Linked DNA regions of Homo sapiens: regions 1, 3, 4, 5 and 6 are each linked to region 2. Evidence: promoter capture Hi-C in 16 types of primary human blood cells and fetal thymus (Javierre and others, 2016). All regions are on one chromosome and are shown on one strand. The core of a region is centred on a gene start or on the middle of the fragment in contact, and the rest is flanking DNA. Distances in the headings are between cores, read along the strand shown. Region 1 overlaps BROX (BRO1 domain and CAAX motif containing). Region 2 holds the start of EPRS1 (glutamyl-prolyl-tRNA synthetase 1). Region 3 overlaps MIA3 (MIA SH3 domain ER export factor 3). Region 4 has its middle 7.5 kb from the start of TAF1A. Region 5 holds the start of GPATCH2 (G-patch domain containing 2). Region 6 overlaps AIDA (axin interactor, dorsalization associated).

Evidence for each region. The method cuts DNA at HindIII sites, captures the fragments that hold promoters and counts their contacts. A CHiCAGO score of 5 or more calls a contact.
Region 1: a fragment that was not itself captured here is called in contact with the fragment with the promoter of EPRS1 in region 2 in 1 of 17 cell types (M2 macrophages); the score reaches 6.6 in M2 macrophages.
Region 3: a contact is called between a fragment that was not itself captured here and the fragment with the promoter of EPRS1 in region 2, in 1 of 17 cell types (monocytes). The highest score is 5.9, in monocytes.
Region 4: a contact is called between a fragment that was not itself captured here and the fragment with the promoter of EPRS1 in region 2, in 1 of 17 cell types (neutrophils). The highest score is 5.4, in neutrophils.
Region 5: a contact is called between the fragment with the promoter of GPATCH2 here and the fragment with the promoter of EPRS1 in region 2, in 1 of 17 cell types (naive CD8 T cells). The highest score is 6.3, in naive CD8 T cells.
Region 6: a contact is called between a fragment that was not itself captured here and the fragment with the promoter of EPRS1 in region 2, in 1 of 17 cell types (M2 macrophages). The highest score is 10.3, in M2 macrophages.

What each region holds. Positions count from the first base shown.
Region 1 is chr1:222,726,102-222,728,835 of GRCh38, reverse strand. It overlaps BROX (BRO1 domain and CAAX motif containing), which reads right to left. Exons shown (of 13, transcript NM_144695.4): 8 at 1,579-1,668; 9 at 8-93. Among named protein-coding and RNA genes, the nearest start is that of FAM177B, 9.7 kb to the left of the region's middle. The HindIII fragment of the contact is 641 bases long and covers 935-1,575 here.
Region 2 is chr1:220,045,221-220,048,061 of GRCh38, reverse strand. It overlaps EPRS1 (glutamyl-prolyl-tRNA synthetase 1), which reads left to right and starts at 1,557. Exons shown (of 32, transcript NM_004446.3): 1 at 1,557-1,719. The coding sequence starts at 1,674. RefSeq lists enhancers at 1,346-1,415, 1,476-1,805, 1,847-2,404. The HindIII fragment of the contact is 10,455 bases long and covers 1-2,841 here.
Region 3 is chr1:222,654,929-222,657,814 of GRCh38, reverse strand. The region is part of intron 18 of MIA3 (MIA SH3 domain ER export factor 3); the gene reads right to left. Among named protein-coding and RNA genes, the nearest start is that of MIA3, 38 kb to the right of the region's middle. RefSeq lists an enhancer at 2,604-2,843. The HindIII fragment of the contact is 3,961 bases long and covers 1-2,886 here.
Region 4 is chr1:222,596,125-222,598,824 of GRCh38, reverse strand. No RefSeq gene overlaps it. Among named protein-coding and RNA genes, the nearest start is that of TAF1A, 7.5 kb to the right of the region's middle. The HindIII fragment of the contact is 3,112 bases long and covers 1-2,700 here.
Region 5 is chr1:217,629,685-217,632,384 of GRCh38, reverse strand. It overlaps GPATCH2 (G-patch domain containing 2), which reads left to right and starts at 1,295. Exons shown (of 10, transcript NM_018040.5): 1 at 1,295-1,469. The coding sequence starts at 1,414. It overlaps SPATA17 (spermatogenesis associated 17), which reads right to left and starts at 1,041. Exons shown (of 11, transcript NM_138796.4): 1 at 939-1,041. The coding sequence starts at 1,006. RefSeq lists enhancers at 1,017-1,256, 1,287-1,356. The HindIII fragment of the contact is 9,292 bases long and covers 1-1,718 here.
Region 6 is chr1:222,692,006-222,694,705 of GRCh38, reverse strand. It overlaps AIDA (axin interactor, dorsalization associated), which reads left to right. Exons shown (of 10, transcript NM_022831.4): 3 at 443-496; 4 at 863-917. Among named protein-coding and RNA genes, the nearest start is that of AIDA, 19 kb to the left of the region's middle. RefSeq lists an enhancer at 45-214. The HindIII fragment of the contact is 174 bases long and covers 1,232-1,405 here.

The DNA of each region.
Region 1 (2,734 bases), core at 6-2,505, 2.7 Mb before region 2:
TACTTACATAAGCTGTGTAGAAACACATCTTCAAGTGAAGATATTTTCTCCATTTGGCAGAATATGCAGGCTCCAAACTGGATAAAGTATGATCTAAAGTTACATTTTAAAAAGCAAAATATAATTTCGCCCTGATTCACTAGAAGACTTTTAGTTCATGTGTTCTGATGATAAAAGCAGAAAGAATGCCATTCAAGTCTAAAACTCAAGAATTTAATTTTTTTTTAAAAACACCTTTACTTGATTTTACCAAATCTATACTTTAAGTTACATAAGATTGGTTAAATACTATGGCAGCTCTTTGATTTGATGGTTAATACAACTTTAAGTTAAAGATAATGATAAAAACAGATTGTGACCAAGAACTTCAAGGTGAATACTGTTTATACCGTTATATTAGCTAATTTAAAAAACTTATATAATATAGCAAAACAAATAGTAGTCTAGTCACTCAAATCAGAAATAGGATACTCTCCTCTCTACCCCCATCACTGAATTTTATGTGAAACACACACACATTCACTCACATATCCTTCTACCAAACATCTCTCAAATCTATTTTTTCCTATTTGCTACGTTGCTGTATTTGCCAAAGCTTTCATCATTTCCTTCATAAACTTTAAGAATTTCTTAAGTGCTAAGTTAAGTTAGCCTATTACTCCTTCATGTAGCAAGCCTATCTCTAATACTGCAACTATAGGGACCTTTCTTAAATTCAAATCCAATCAAGTCAGGCTTTTAATGTAGATACATTCCCAAGTATCTACAGAATGGCTTACAAACCAGTGTTTGATTCCAAGCATGCATACTTTTTCAAACTCTTCTCCTACCACTCATCCTGTGTTTCAGGTCACTGTCTGAAGTTTCCAGAATGTGCTAAGTTCTTTCTTATGTCTGTACTTACTATAGAATTCTACACCCAAACTCTAAAGCTTCCTAGGGAACATAAGACTTTTATTTACACTTCACAATAAGGCTAAAGCATCTTCTTCTAGAGTCCTTCTTTAGCATGCCCAGCTTGTTAAGGTTCCTAATTCGCCGCTGTGATGTCTTACTTCAGGATATAATAACGGGGTTACATGTTTGTCTTCTTCCCTAAACTGCAGATCTTTTCTATTTACCTCTCCTTAGCAACAAAAACAGTAACTATCCCATAAATAAAAACACATGCATGTTTCCTAAATAAGTAAATGAAGAGTAATAGGCTTATCACAGGAGCTGTGTTCTACGCCCAATCTCCCACTTTCTAGCAGTTGAATTATGGGTCATGTTAACTCTCTGGATTTTGGATTCTTGTCTAAAGCATAGTAACTATAAGGTTGTTATAAACACTAAAAAAAAATTTTAAGCAAAAAAGCTGTATAATTTTATGAGACATCACTGGTTTTCCCCTCCATTAGAAGTTATGCAGCATACTAAACATGAACAGCTCTATTTTAAATGCAATAAATAAAATATTACTCCAGTTTTGCAAATAATGACAGAATCTGAGAACCCTTTTGTTTTGTTCCCTATTCAAGATCAAATAAATCTGAAAATCTAAAGACTAAAAATGTAACGACAGAATTAGAAGCTTACCAGCTTTTTGATAGAAATTGGCTGTTTCATACGCCAGTGCAGCAATTAGTCCAGGAGCATGTTTTAGTTCAATTGCTCGAGCAATTGTTACTGTAACCAAACACAATAAAGTGAATCTATAATTAAGCTCACTTTATTCATCCTAAATTCAATTATAATAGCAAAAGACAGTCTGATAATCTCTCTGGGATTTTAATACAGTTTGTTAAACGTTTTAACGTGCAAACTTATAGAAAATGCAAACATTAACAAAAAAACACTGAGTTTGTTGGTTCCAATGCCATTTCTTTAAATAAATCATCAGCAAATTACCAGCTAATCATAGAGAATCACTATTACAAAACAGCATGACCTAACAGCAAATTCTTTTTTTCTGAGACAGGGTCTTGCTGTCACCCAGGATGGAGTGCAGTGGCTTGATCATGGCTTACTGCAGCCTCAAACTCTCAGGCTCAAGTGATCCTGCTGCCTCAGTCTCCTGAGTGGCTGAGACTACACATGCATGCCATGGCACCTGGCTAATTTCTTTTTTTTTTTTTTGAGATGGAGTTTTACTCTTGTTGACCACGCTAGAGTGCAATGGCACGATCTCGGCTCACCACAACCTCCGCCTCCCAGGTTCAAGCGATTCTCCTGCCTCAGCCTCCTGAGTAGCTGGGATTGCAGGCATACGCCACCATGCCCAGCTAATTTTGTATGTTTTAGTGGAGATGGGGTTTCTCCATGTTGGTCAGGCTGGTCTCGAACTCCCAACCTCAGGTGATCTGCCTGCCTCGGCCACCCAAAGTGCTGAGATTACAGGCGTGAGCCACCACCACACCCAGCCAACTGGCTAATTTTTTAAATAACTTTTTGTAGAGATGGAGGTCTTGCCATACTGCCCAGGCTGGTCTCAAACTCCTGGGCTCAAGCAATTCTCCTGCCTCGGCCTCCCAAATTGCTGGGATTACAGGCATAAGCCACCAGCCCAGCCATTTTCAGAGGAAGACTAGAGTTTGAAATAAAGAAAAACGAAAGCCTACAAAGTTTCTTAATTGTTTCACGTTGAGTGTCATTATTACTTGCCATTGAAAGGTGAAGACATTAAGGTAAGCCAACGAGTGAAAGAGAAAAAAGAATGAGCACAGTAGAGAGAAAAGATGAATTAAAGAATTAA
Region 2 (2,841 bases), core at 308-2,807:
GATGTCTTGGGGAGGTTAAGAAAAAGTGTAGGCGAGGATGTGGTTGAGATGGTTCTTGGAATCCATCCCGGGTCCCCGTACTTTAACACCAGCCCTTGAAATATGGGTGCAGCTCACACACACGAATGTGTGTATACACCTTGGAGTATCTCTGGAGCTCATGCATGCACGTCCGTCACAAAGGATTTGAAAGGGAGAATCAGATGAGACGCTGAAAAAAACACCTGTGGACTCCATGATTGGGGGCGGCATCGGAGGGTTTTTTTGTTTTGTTTTTTAGATCAGGTCTCTCCCTGTGTCGGCCAGGCTGGAGGGTAGTGGCTACTCACAGGCAAGTCCACGGCGAGGCCACTACAGCCTCATCTTCCTGGGCTCAGGCGATCCTGCCTCAGCCTTCTTAATAGCTGAGACTACAGGAGCGCGCCACTGCGCCTATCTGCAGTGATTTTTTGTTTGTTTTGAAACGGGGTCTCAGTCTGTCGCCCAGGCTGGAGTGCAGTGCCGCGATCTCGGCTCACCGCAACCTCCTCCTCCCGGGTTCAAGCGATTCTCCTGCCTCAGCTCCCCAAGTAGCTAGGATTAAAGGTGCGCGCTACCATTCCCGGCTAATTTTTGTACTTTTAGTAGAGACCCCCGTCTCTACAGTTTCACCATGTTGGTGAAGCTGGTCTCCAACTCCTGACCTCGAGATCCGCTCGCCTCCGGCCTCCCAAAGTGCTGGGATTACAGGCCTGAGCCACCGCGCCCGGCCTCTGCTGTGATTTTTTTTTTTTTTCTTTTCGAGAAGGAGTCTCACTCTGTCGCCCAGGCTGGATGCAGTAGCACGATCTCGGCTCACTGCAACCTCCACCTCCCAGGTTCAAGCGATTCTCCTGCCTCAGCCTCCCAAGTAGCTGGGATTACAGGGGCCCACCACCATGCCAGGCTAATTTTTGTATTTTTAGTAGAGATGGGGTTTCACCATGCTGGCCAGACTGGTCTCGAACTCCTGACCTCAGGTGATCCGCCCGCCTACACCTTCTAAAGTGCTGAGATTACAGGCGTGAGCCACCACGCCCGGCCTGCAGTGATTTTTAAAGAGTCTTTTATATTTCCTTTAACCATTATTTTCAACACGCAAATAACTCTTGAAAATACGTTCTTGTTTTGGAAAAAAAAAAACGGGGGGGAATGTATAAAATAAACAACGAGAAAAACTTCTCCCATTCCCAACGTAATCATGGCTATCGTGTGTATGCTTCCAGGACTTTTCTTTTTACATAAAGACAGTGCATGCTTTTGTTTCGTGCTTCACATAAACGCCTATCCCATCTTAAAGATGGTTTTACAACCTGCTGTTTTACGACCTGCTGACTTGACGAAGTGTCGTAAAGTCCCGTCCACTTCAGCGTCTTTCCCACCGCAGCACGAAAGGCCACGCAGGCCGTTCTAACCCTGGCGGCCAAGAGGAGGGGTAGCAGGCTCTGGAACCTGCGGGCGGGGACGAAGACGGCGCGCGACGATGTCGCACCGCGGCGTGCGCGGTGTCGGCAGTAGCTGCGGCGCAGGGGCGGAGCGAAGGCTGCGGCGGCGTCGGGTACGCGCACACGTTGCATCTTCTTCCTTTCGCGGGGTCCTCCGTAGTTCTGGCACGAGCCAGGCGTACTGACAGGTGGACCAGCGGACTGGTGGAGATGGCGACGCTCTCTCTGACCGTGAATTCAGGAGACCCTCCGCTAGGTAAGGGGCCGAGACCAATGACCTGTGTGGGTTGCATCAGCCAGGGAGGGTGCAGGGCGTGGAAGGTCGCTGCGCCCCGGCTTTGCGCAGTGGTGGTCACCATCTGGGATGTTGGACCTGCCCCTCGCCCCAGAATTGTACGTGGAGGAGGCTCCGCACCCCTCGCCCCGTGTCCCCGGCAGGTGCATCTGCTCCTGAAGATGGTTTTCCCGGGCATGGAGGGAGGCGCAGTGTGAGCCCGGGCTAGACAACACGAGACTCCGCTTCGGATCTTTTTCTCAGAGGGATGAACTCCCAGTCAACTCACCTCTCCCTTTTTCCCCCGGAGAGCGAGAGTTGCTCGTGGAAATAAGATTTTAAAACTTAAAATCCAATAGTCGTCGCTTCTCTTTTAGCATTTTTCCCCCAACTCCTTTTCTTACCTCCTTTCCTGTCCTGTCCCTCCTCTCAGGAGAAATCCTCAGTTCACTTGAGTCAAATTTTCCTTACGTTTTATCGAGTTCAGAAGAAATAACCCAGACGAGCATATTAGCATTTAGGATTTCAACTGAGGCTGCATTTATTTTTAATTAAATGTGGTAGGGTAATTGGGGAAAACACCCAGGTACACTGTAGACTGATGCGGTTGCTTTTACTGCACCCTGTGGATGTGTAGTAAATTTCAGAGTAAACATTGGATCTGTCACCTTACTGACACATCTTAAGTTCTGTTTGGAATTATTTTTTCGACATGACCAAGATTATTGTTGGTAGATTGCTTAGAATTTCTGCTTTTTCATTACTTTGGGAAATTACACAGAAGAATTTAAGTAGTTTGCCGATTTTTTTTTTTCTTTTGAGAGTCAGGGTCTTGCTCTATCGTCCAGGCTGGAGTGCAGTGGCGCTTTCAAGGCTCACTGCAGCATCGAACTTCCGGGCTCAGATGATCCTCCCACCTCAGCCTCCTTAGTAGCTGGGACTACAGGCGCGTGCCACCATGCCTGGCTAATTTTGTGTTTGTGTCTTTTTTGGAAAGATGGCGTTTCACTGTGTTGCCCAGGCAGGTCTCAAACTCCTGGGCTCAAGCCATCCTGACTTGGCCTCCCAAAGTACTAGGATTACAGGCGTGAGCCACAGTACCCA
Region 3 (2,886 bases), core at 160-2,659, 2.6 Mb before region 2:
CAGCAAATATTTTATGAGTGGTTATACTAATTACCTTGTAAGAGACTAAGATAAAGGTATGGCTATGGTAAGTACCACCTCTGCACTAATGGAGCTCACAGCTGAATGTGTAAAAGGTGCATATAAGAACAGAACAATCCCTCTCTGACTCTGGCTTAGGAAGGGATGTGGAAAAAACAAGTCTTGAAGAAGGATTCAAGAGAATTTTGTTTCCAATAATGGATGAGTTAGTCTGCAAACACTGAAAATAAGAACATATGGACAAAAATAGAAAGAATGTGCTCGAAGGCATCAGAAAGCTAATAAGGCAGTGAAGAAAATCCAGTAGGAAAAAACACAGAATTATAAGTAAGCCCGGCATTTTAAGCCATTTCCCCCCAGGTTCATCCATGCATTGAAGACAATGCAGATATGTAAGAAGGTTGAAAAGAACTTTCAACAGATCCCTGGGTTGAGAGAAACAAGAAGCGGAGGGAGTTCAGGGCTGCCAATGAGAAGGACCCCTAGTAAAAGCCCTAGGCTTTGGGTTGAGACCAGAAAAGAGCTGCACACTTGGAGTATTGAACAGGCAATAAATACAATGTCCTTTAAAGGAACTAAGCCATTTTTGAATGATTTTAATTGCTAACTGGAATAAAGTAATGACCACCTGCTAGAGGTAATCTCATATCTTTTATGTAGGATGATAACATCATCTTAGACCTCAAATTTCCCCTACAATTTTCAAAAACAATGTTCACCACTCCATCAAAACCAACCAGACATTCCACAAGACAAGACAATGTAATCACAATCTAGAAGACCAGAGAAACACACTCATAAGGGATCCACATAATAGGATTACCACATAGATTTTAAAGCAATTGTGCCTTACAAATTGAAGGAAGTACAAGTCAAGATTACACATTTCAGCAGAGGATTAGAAACTATAAAAGTGAAAAATAGTGAAACCAAAAAGAACTCAATGATTTTAGCAGATTAGACAACTGAGGTGAGATTTTTAGCACATTGGAAGATAGGTCAGAAGAAAACATCCAGAATGAAGCATATTCAGAATGTAGGAGGCATTGGGCGAGGGGTAGGGGTGGGAGATCCTAGTATGTTGAATTGGATTCTCAGGACAAGTGAGAATAAGATAGAATTAATATGTGAAAAAAGAGGCTCCAAACTCAAGAGATGTTTATAACCTCAAGCAGTATAAATGCAAAAGAAAAAGCAGGAGGGTAGGGTGGAAGGGTGATGACAAAACCCTACATGTAGGCACCTCCCAAGAAAACTGCTGAAAAACCAAAAAGAAAATGACGAAAGGCAGCTAGGGCAGGCATAAAACATTTGAAAAAAGAGAAAAGAGAAAATAAGAATGATAATAGATTCCTCAAAGAAACTTTAAAACTAGAGGATAACTGGTTATCTTTAAAGTGCTGATACTAAACAACTATCGAAATTCCAGAACCAGCAGAAAGATCCTTTTAAAATGGAGTCAAACTAAAGACATTTTCATACAAAAGTAAACTCACTGAACCTGCATTAAAGTATATTCTTTGGCCGGGCGCGGTGGCTCACACCTGTAATCCCAGCACTTTGGGAGGCCGAGGCGGGTGGATCACGAGGTCAGGAGATTGAGACCATCCTGGCTAACACAGGTGAAACCCCATCTCTACTAAAAATACAAAAAAAATTAGCCGGGCATGGTGGCGGGCGCCTGTAGTCCCAGCTACTCGGGAGACTGAGGCAGGAGAATGGCATGAACCTGGGAGGCGGAGCTTGCAGTAAGCTGAGACCACGCCACTGCACTCCAGCCTGGGCGGCAGAGTGAGACTCTGTCTCAAAAAAAAAAAAAAAAAAAAAAAAGGGAAAGAAAGTCTGGAGATACGTGATTAGCTAGGGGACTGGCATAAAAGATGACAAGGGCCTGAATTAACACAGTGACTTTAGGGGTGGACAGTAGAGTACAAACCACACATGGAGACTGAATGAATTTTGGGGAAGTTGAATAAAACACTGCCACATCAATGGGTTAACTGTATCACGAAGAAAAACAGTTGCCATTTACGTAATTCACATTACTATTGGAGGCAGAGAAGTGCTCTTTTTTAAAAAGTAATGAAATGAGGAATGTCTCTCTGAAGCAGGACAGGCATTTATTTAGAGCTGGCCTGAACAAAACCTGGAAAATCTAAACTGGCTGCCTGGTGAGCAAAGAATTAGAGAAAAAGTTAATGGTATGGTTTCAATATTTAATGGCATACAGCAGTAGCAGTCTAAGCATTTAAAAAAGTTAAATTTGCTTAGCAAGAGAGGCCTCCTCACACACTGCCATATACACCAAAGAGTAAAACATAAGAGCAAACACAAATAGCAACTGCCACAGATAACCTATTTTTAGAGAATTCAGATGTTTTTGTGGACAAAAAACTTGAACTATAAAAATATACCTCTCAAAAGGTACCTCGCTCGAAATTTGAGATATGTATTTCAGAGGATTATTATCTAAATATACACACCAAATAGTTCTACATTCAAAACTCCTAATATCTTTGCCACAATTATGTTTAGTTTGAATATTTTACTCTGTGAAGTCCAAAACTAAATGTACCTTCAATAAGTAAATTTTCCTTTTTTGAAGTTTTTATTCTACTAAAACACGTCATACAAATCCCTCAGACTGTTTAAAGGAAATTACATAATTGACCACAAAGAAAGGAAAGTGAAACAAGTGGCGGAGCCACAGACAAGGCATGGCCAGATCTTCAAAAGAGAAGCACTCCCACAGCAGCGACCGTCAGTACCAGTACACTGCTCCCCCTTAAGTGAGTTACAGGCAACAGTTTTTGACTACTGGTTAGAAAGGAAAGAAAAATGCAGCTTATGAGAAACAAAGCAGAA
Region 4 (2,700 bases), core at 1-2,500, 2.6 Mb before region 2:
AAATGGATAAGAAAATAATGTGACTTCGGGAAAGCCCTTATCCCTTTAGACAGAACTGTAGGAAAACACAGTTACAGTTAGGTAAAGGACCAGAGCATGTTATTTGTGCAAATGTGTAACATCCATGCCCTGGCCATGAACTTTTCGTAGCATCCCTAGTCATGATAGCAAAATAAAAATTGCTCCCATGCATTTCCAAACCCCCCTTGGTGGGAATGATACCACCCTCCCAGTATGAGATGCACTGCTTGAGACTTTTCTTAAAATTTGATCAGTTAACAAAGCACCTGTGGTTGTAAATATTCTGTTTTCTGTAGTTTCTTTTACCAGCAAAAAGGAAAAGATTATAACATCAATGTAAAAACAAAAACAATAAAACCCAAAGAAACTCAAAAGTCTTTCTAGATTCAAGTGACTTTGCTTCACAATTTTTTTTTTCATTTAAAGCTAACATCACCTTAAAGGATGTCTCACACAAAAGTCTTTCTAGATTCAAGTGACTTTGCTTCACAATTTTTTTTTCATTTAAAGCTAACATCACCTTAAAGGATGTCTCACACTTCTGAATTTATATTTCCTGACCTCCAAAAGGGATCCTATCTATTATTAAAAAGTCAAAAAATAAAAGATGCTGGTGAGGTCGCAGAGAAAAGGGAATACTTATACAATGGTAGGGTGGATAAGAAAATGGAATACCATGGAAGACCACGGAATACTATGCAGCCATAAGAAAGAATGAGATCATGTTCTTTGCAGCAACATGGATAGAGCTGGAGGCCATTACCCTAAGCTAACTAATGCAGAAACAGAAAACCAATTACTGTATGTTCTCACTCATAAATGGCAGCTAAACATTGAGTACACATGGGCACAAATTAAGAACACCACGGGCTACTTGAGGGTGGAGGGTGGAAGTAGAATGAGGATTGAAAAATTACCTATCAGGTACTATGCTTATTTATTAGTTGGGTGTTGAAATAATCTGTGCACCAAACCTCTGGGACACACAATTTACCTATATAACAAACCTGCGCATGTACCCACTGAAACGAAAATAAAAGTTAAAAAAAGAACACAAAAGGGGTCTTATATTGTTCTACTTCCATATTCCCACATTTATTCCCTCTTCTGCACTATCTTACCTCGAATTTACATCTTAATGAGTTCTATTGTTAGTGTGTGTGTGTGCATTAATAGTTGAACCATGGATACAATTTGACCTATTTGGAATGGATGTGAAGGACTTTTTCTTTAATTAAAGCACATGTTTCTCAATTAGGACCTAGGGAATATAGGTTGAGACGTAGTACATAGTCATTAGAATGACAATTGAAATTGAAATTAAATAAATATGTATCAATTCATGATGGTTGATCTCATTTACCCCATTATAATCAGTGCCCTTCACTACAGAACAGCAAACTCACTTCTAGCATTGACATCTACTAATTGTATGTTAGAGATTGCAGAAGAAGCAATGTAGAGTTAATGACTGTCATAATGATGGAGATGCATGATGACATCAGTAATTTTTTTAGTGAATCTCTTTTTGGACACAAAAATCACCACCAATATGGCTATGTATCTTTAAAATTATATTTATGTATATATGTATATATATACATATTTAGATATATAGCACAACCAAATGTTTATGCTCTATTGTGAGCATAAACATTTATAGGTACTCCAGAGCAATGGTTAGCAAACTATGGCCCACGAGCTAAATCCAGCCTCACATCTGTTTTTGTAAACAAAGTTTCAATAGAACACAGACATGCTCATTCATTTACATATTGTCTGTGGTTATTTTAATGCTATATAACAGCAGAGTGGTTATGACAAAGACTGTATGACAGGTAAATCTAAAATATTTATTCTCTGTATCTACAGAAAATGTTTGCTGACTCCTGATATAGATTGTAAATGAAATGTCAGCAGAATACATGTGCATTTTTTCTTTTTTTATTGCTAGAATGGGTTGTATGAAATGGGATCAAGGAGCTGCTAATTGTTGGGACCAACGTCTCCTCCATACAGGGCTAGAAATCTTGGCACGGTGTCACGTCAAAGGTGAAAAACAACGAATGAAGTTCATTTTGTTGAGGTTTAAGAAATGTCTTTTCTAGGGCATTTTAAGGTGTATCTAATCTTTGGGTTGTAGAAAATGACAATGGTTTTCAAAATAGTTGGAAAGAATGCTTTAATCTGTTATGTTCACTAGTATTTTATAATAATTTCAGAACTATCATCTAATATATTAAAGTATCATAAAAGACTGTATATTGAATTGCAGTAAAAAGTTTTGAGTCCATCTATTAACGTTTATTTTTCTAGTTATTGTGGATTTCATGCTCATAAAACTATTGGTAAAACATATGATCATTTAAGTCACATTACCTCACAAATTTTGGCCAGCTTATTTTTCATAGACCCATGTTGGTTTACTCCTTCACCTGATTTTGGTTTCCATGGACATTAAAAGAGACACTACAGAGTTTCTCTATAATTTGCCCTGTTTAATGAGTGTCTCCATCACAAATGATGGAAAAGTGTATAAGGAAGTTAGTACGTTCACTTTGAACCATGACTGAGTTACCTGGTACTGGACTTGCCTTCCTGTCACAAAAGAGTAAGAAACTAGAAAAACTACTTAAAGCAACTGTTTTCAGGCATTGATAAACAGGCAGCACATGACTG
Region 5 (2,700 bases), core at 46-2,545, 2.4 Mb after region 2:
TACAAAAACTCCTGGGGCAATGCTTCTTTAAAATGAAACTCTTCCTGGGCAAGAAGTTTGGCTGTAGGGAGATGAAGAAGACTGCTAGTGGTTTTCTTACCCGTTATCTATTAATTAATATATTGGTACTAGTTACCGTGTCAGAATGGTTTAGACACTTTCATTTTATTTTATTTTATTTATATTTATTTATTTATTTATTGAGACAGGGTCTTAATTTGTCACCCAGGCTGGAGTGCAGTGGTACAATGTCGGGTCACTGCAACCTCTGCCTCCCAGGTTCAAGCGATTCTCCTGCCTCAGCCTCCGGACTAGCTGGGATGACAGGCATGTGCCACCATGCCCGGCTAGTTTTTGTATTTTTAATAGAGACGGGGTTTCACCATGTTGTCCTGGTTGGTCTAGAACTCCTGGCCTCAGGTGATTCGCCCCCCTCGGCCTCCCAAAGTGCTGGGATTACAGGCGTGAGCCACCACACCCGGCAGATACGTTCATTTTAAAAAGGCGAATGAGTCATAGAACAATTGAGTTTAGTGATGTTTGTAAAATAACGGAGGCTCAAATCCCTAGGTAGATGGGACACAATCTGAGTTCATTGGGCTAGTGAGTCAGGGTGACCCCCAGTCAGGGTATTGAACATAGGTTTCATCAAATTGCAGAGTGGTGATGTCGAAGAAAAAAAGCACTTTACAATTTTATCTATGCTGGGAGTTTCCTTAAATCATCTCACACTGAATATCTACGGCCCCTCTCTATTTAGAATTTCGTTGTATGGTAACAGAAACTCCCAATTATGTTTGCAGCCCATTAAGGGAAGAATTGGGTACTACTTAATGAATTAGGGTAATCGTTAAATCGTTAATTGGAAACTCCCGCTGAGGAACAACTGGTATAAAGTCACGCCCGCCCTTTACGCGATCCTTCTCTTCCTGACTTACCTGTTCCTAAAGTAGTACTGATTTCCTACAGTCGACGACCTAGCTTGCAGCCGGGCTAACGTGGCCATGGTCTCTTGGCCTTGGGTTTACAACTGGTGTTACTACCGGTCTCCATGGTAACTGGGCTAAACCATAGCTCACTCCCGGGGTTCGACTTTTTGTTCACTCCTCTTTTCTCTCATGCTGCTTTGACTTTAAGAGCACTAAAAAGAGAATTAAGAAATTTCTGTGTAGCACAAAAGTTTAATTTATTTGTCTCTGTCTCTACTGCGAGTAGGAAGAGGGGATTATAGGAAGGGGAAAGCAGTAAACGCGGAGAACTAATGGTTGCTCCGGGCATCCGGTTTCCGCCGCCTGTCGGCTTCCGGAAGCTCATCTCAAAATGCTGAACTGCTCTTTGGAAGTCGCCGGTGCTGTTGTAGTTGGAGTCTGTTCACGGGCCTGAGCTTCGAGGCCAGGCTCCCGGGTGTCGTTAATGTTCGGGGCCGCCGGGCGCCAACCGATCGGAGCTCCAGCAGCCGGGAACAGCTGGTGAGGCTGGCGGCCCTGGGGAGGGGGAGGTCAGGGAAGGGTGTGATTGCCCGAGGCCGCTCCGCTGGACCTGGAATGGAGGCGGGAGGGAGCTGTGATGGATGATCTGAAGACATCTAGGCCTTGCTCTCACTCATTCCTGGGATGCACGCAGTTTGAGGGAGCTCTTGGGTGTGTGCCAAAGATTTGTGAAAGAATACAGTAAATGTTTTCTGATTGCTTGTTTAACAATATTTTAGAAGTCAAGCTTCCTGTACTCCAGGAGCAATTCATCTCCTCATTGATTGTTGACAACACTAGGGACAGGAAGAATTTATCTTAATCCGGGCCTTATTCCCCACTCCTCTTTCAATATTTACCAGATTATACCAAGTCTTTTGGAAGATAAATTCCAGAAATCTAGAGTTCTGGAAGTTCAATCGTGGAAAACACATCACCCTCTCACCCCCTTTTTTAAAGAGAGAGGGTAACCTACCTGTTTCCACCCTCTTGAACATTCTATTCAAGTTAAAGTGAGATATGTATGGGGGCTTTCCAAGAACCTATAACTGTCAGGATTAAGTTTGGGGCTTGACTATGTCTATGGTATCATGTTAGAATAATATATTGCTTTGACTTTTCAAAGTATTTCCACAAATTAATACACTTTATCCTATGACAGCCTTGTGATAGCAGAATATCACAAGCACAGAAAATTCAAGTACCGTGTCCAAAGTTGCCCTGTACATTTTAATCCTAGAGCTAGAATCCTGATTTGGGGATTTCTAGTTGAACACTCTGTATTATCTGTCCTGTTTTTCTCCCAAGCCCTTTTCCTCCAAACATAACATAAGACAACCAGTGACACAAACAAGCAATTTCCCATTGAAAATCCTCAAACATAAAGTTCTGACCAACAGGTGAAAGAAATGTGGCTAAATGGTGCGTGTTCATTCCTAGATTCTGCAAAAATTAGAACATGAGGAATTCTAGTAGTCTGTGATCTCAGATAATTGCTTTTCCATCACCTATCACTGAAAAGTTAAAAGAATACCTTATCCAAAATATTTCTAGTTGGACCTGATCATCCTGTAGTTAATTTTATAGTGAATATAGATTTGATTATACTATTTGTAAATTATTACATTTTCCAGTGAGAAAAGTAGGGAGCATTTTTTAAATGAACCAGTTTTTAATGGTATAACTAGCATAGAATGAAATGCACAATTTTTACAGGCTTAATTTTATTAGT
Region 6 (2,700 bases), core at 69-2,568, 2.6 Mb before region 2:
TTAGTGTTGCCTATATATTAAACAAGTTGGTGTTGGACTTAAGTCAGAATTAAATTAATTATACCATTGTGCTAACTTTCAGATATTTTTAAGCCTTTTAAAAGGTGAATTTTAGGCTTTATGGAGAAGAAAAGGTGAAGCTTGGAACAGAAGATACCAGGCAGCCCTTTAAATCATATCTACAGCTGTCATCAAAGCAAACTTGATTTAGAATTAGTTGTGGCACATTAGGTCAGGGGAGAATATATACTCACCTTCTCTCCCTCATCCCAACCCTTTGCCTCTTATTTCTTTTCTCTAGAGTCTGAAAGATGCTAGAAAGAAATAAAATTTAACTTACTTAAGAGAATTATGGATCTTTTATTAATAAAAATTAACTTGATGATTTGAACTAACAGTTATGATAATTCTGGTATTTATAGCTTTTTTTATTCCCCTGCAGAAAACCATAGGCAAAATTGCAACATGCTTGGAATTGCGAAGTGCAGCTTTACAGGTAAGGAGTTTTTCTCTTCTGTAATACAAGGAAAATAAATTATTCTGCATTATTGTGATAAAACATTAGACATTTATGTCAAAAGCAGTATTGTCTCAGAAGTGTTTTATAACAACATCTATTAAATTCATACTTTTTTAGTTCATATTTCGTAAATTGTAAAATAAAAGATATGACTTCAATTTTTTCTGTTATTTTTGGCCTGAGTGTTCCAAAAATAAACAAAAACCAGTTTGGGACTTTTCATTTTCTACCTTGAAAGCAAGAAATAGAATCCTTTTGAATATTTGGTTCTTGCCACTTAAAAGACAGGGTGCAGTGAAATCCTTGTAGTGAAAAGATGTAATATGCTTATTTTAAATTTAGTCCACACAGTCTCAAGAAGAATTTAAACTGGAGGACCTGAAGAAGCTAGAACCAAGTAAGTTTAAGTTTATATTTTTTTGTGATACTCCTTTGGAAAAATAATCTATTGTAGATGTTAAGGCTATTTAACAAAGATTATGATTTGATTTATTTCTGTTAATATCTAGTCCTATGTGATTTTTTGGGTGCTTTTGTTACTTCTGTAACATTTGTAGTAATTATTTTTTGGATTTTACCTTCGTTGTAGAATATATGAGGTTGTACCTCATCTAAATATGTATTAGCCTTTATTTTGTCTTACTCACTTTAATAAAACCACAATTACTTTGGTAAACATTTGCAGCAGCATCTATTGGAGAATATAAAGCTTTAGTCATTGATTCCCATTTACACTACATGTCATTGAAAACTACAGTCCAGCTGTTGGAGCTGCTCTGCAAAATATTTTTTTTGTTGTCTTCATTTTCCTTTCTCCTTAAAACTCTTTTGAAGTAAATAATTTCTTCAAATGTTTTGATGGTTAGTATGCTGCCAAATAAAGCTTTTTTGCTGGTTTAGATGAATGTTCTTTGCAATATGGGCAAATGCACAAGAGTTGAATATAAAACTAAATGAATATAAATCAATATTCTCATTTTTCATTGAGACAAGACTGCACATCTTAACATTATTATGTATATAGAGTCTATTTATCCATCTAAGTCAAATATCTAAGTAGGGAATCATAAAATCATAGCATTTTAGAACAGAAAGGAGTTTTAAGAGTCATATAGTTGAGTTCTCTCACTTTATAGTTGAACAAAGCTGAAATGATTTGCTCTGTTTCACTTCAGCCCTTAGTAGCCACTTCTAAGGAAAATTAATGACTATAACTTGCAGTATGTTGGACTAGGTTGGTTGTTTTGCTGATGTATTCTTCAGTTTTAAAAAATCTCTTGAAAATCATGTCTGAAATTCATACTGATGGTGAAAATACATTTAATTTGCTTATAATAATCCTCAGTCACATACTACTTCTTACTCAAACATATCTCTTCATGACCCTGTAAAATTCCCTTCCATAAATTCATCCTTCAAAGTCCCTCAGATGTCCCATCTTTCTCTGTTCCCCTAGCCATATTAAACTCGGCTTCCTATCTTTTATAGTAACACTTTTTATATCCATCTTCATTGTTTGCCCTGTATTCATTTCACTCCTCAAAGAGATTGTGAATAACCTTTGTATTTTTCCCACAGAGCCTGATTCAGTGCTTTGTATGTAATATGGGCATGGCAAATTTTGTTACATTGAATAGAATTGAATGTCTTCAGGGAAACTTCTCATAATTAAAAAATAATCTTTCAGATGGGAACAGTTACCCATTTTGCCTACCACAAAAATGAAACAAGTCAGTGGCAAAGAGAACACATGTTGATATTTGTGTGTGTGTCATTTCTAGAGTGTAAGCTTCAGGAGGGTGGCAGGTCTGTGCTCCGTGAGAGCAGGCTAGGAGTGCAGAGTTTTTACTAGTAGGGTACATCCCCACGTCTGCCATTCAGAGGTCCTCAGTGTGTAGAGTCTACTGAATGAGCCAGTGAGTCCCCAACCCATGATGTACTTTGTGTTCATTTAATACCTTCTGTGAAATTATAAACTCACCTCTCCCCTTCTCCGCATCCTCCTAAAGTATAATTAGTAGTACTAGTGGAAGGAAAACCCTATGTAAAGTTTAAGGTAAATCCTGTTTTTAAAGGACATTGGAATCCCTGTTATTCTATAATTGGTGAAAATGGAAACCTATCCTACAGAAAATAAGAAAGGATTGTTTTTCCTTCCAACATTATCCACATATATTAAA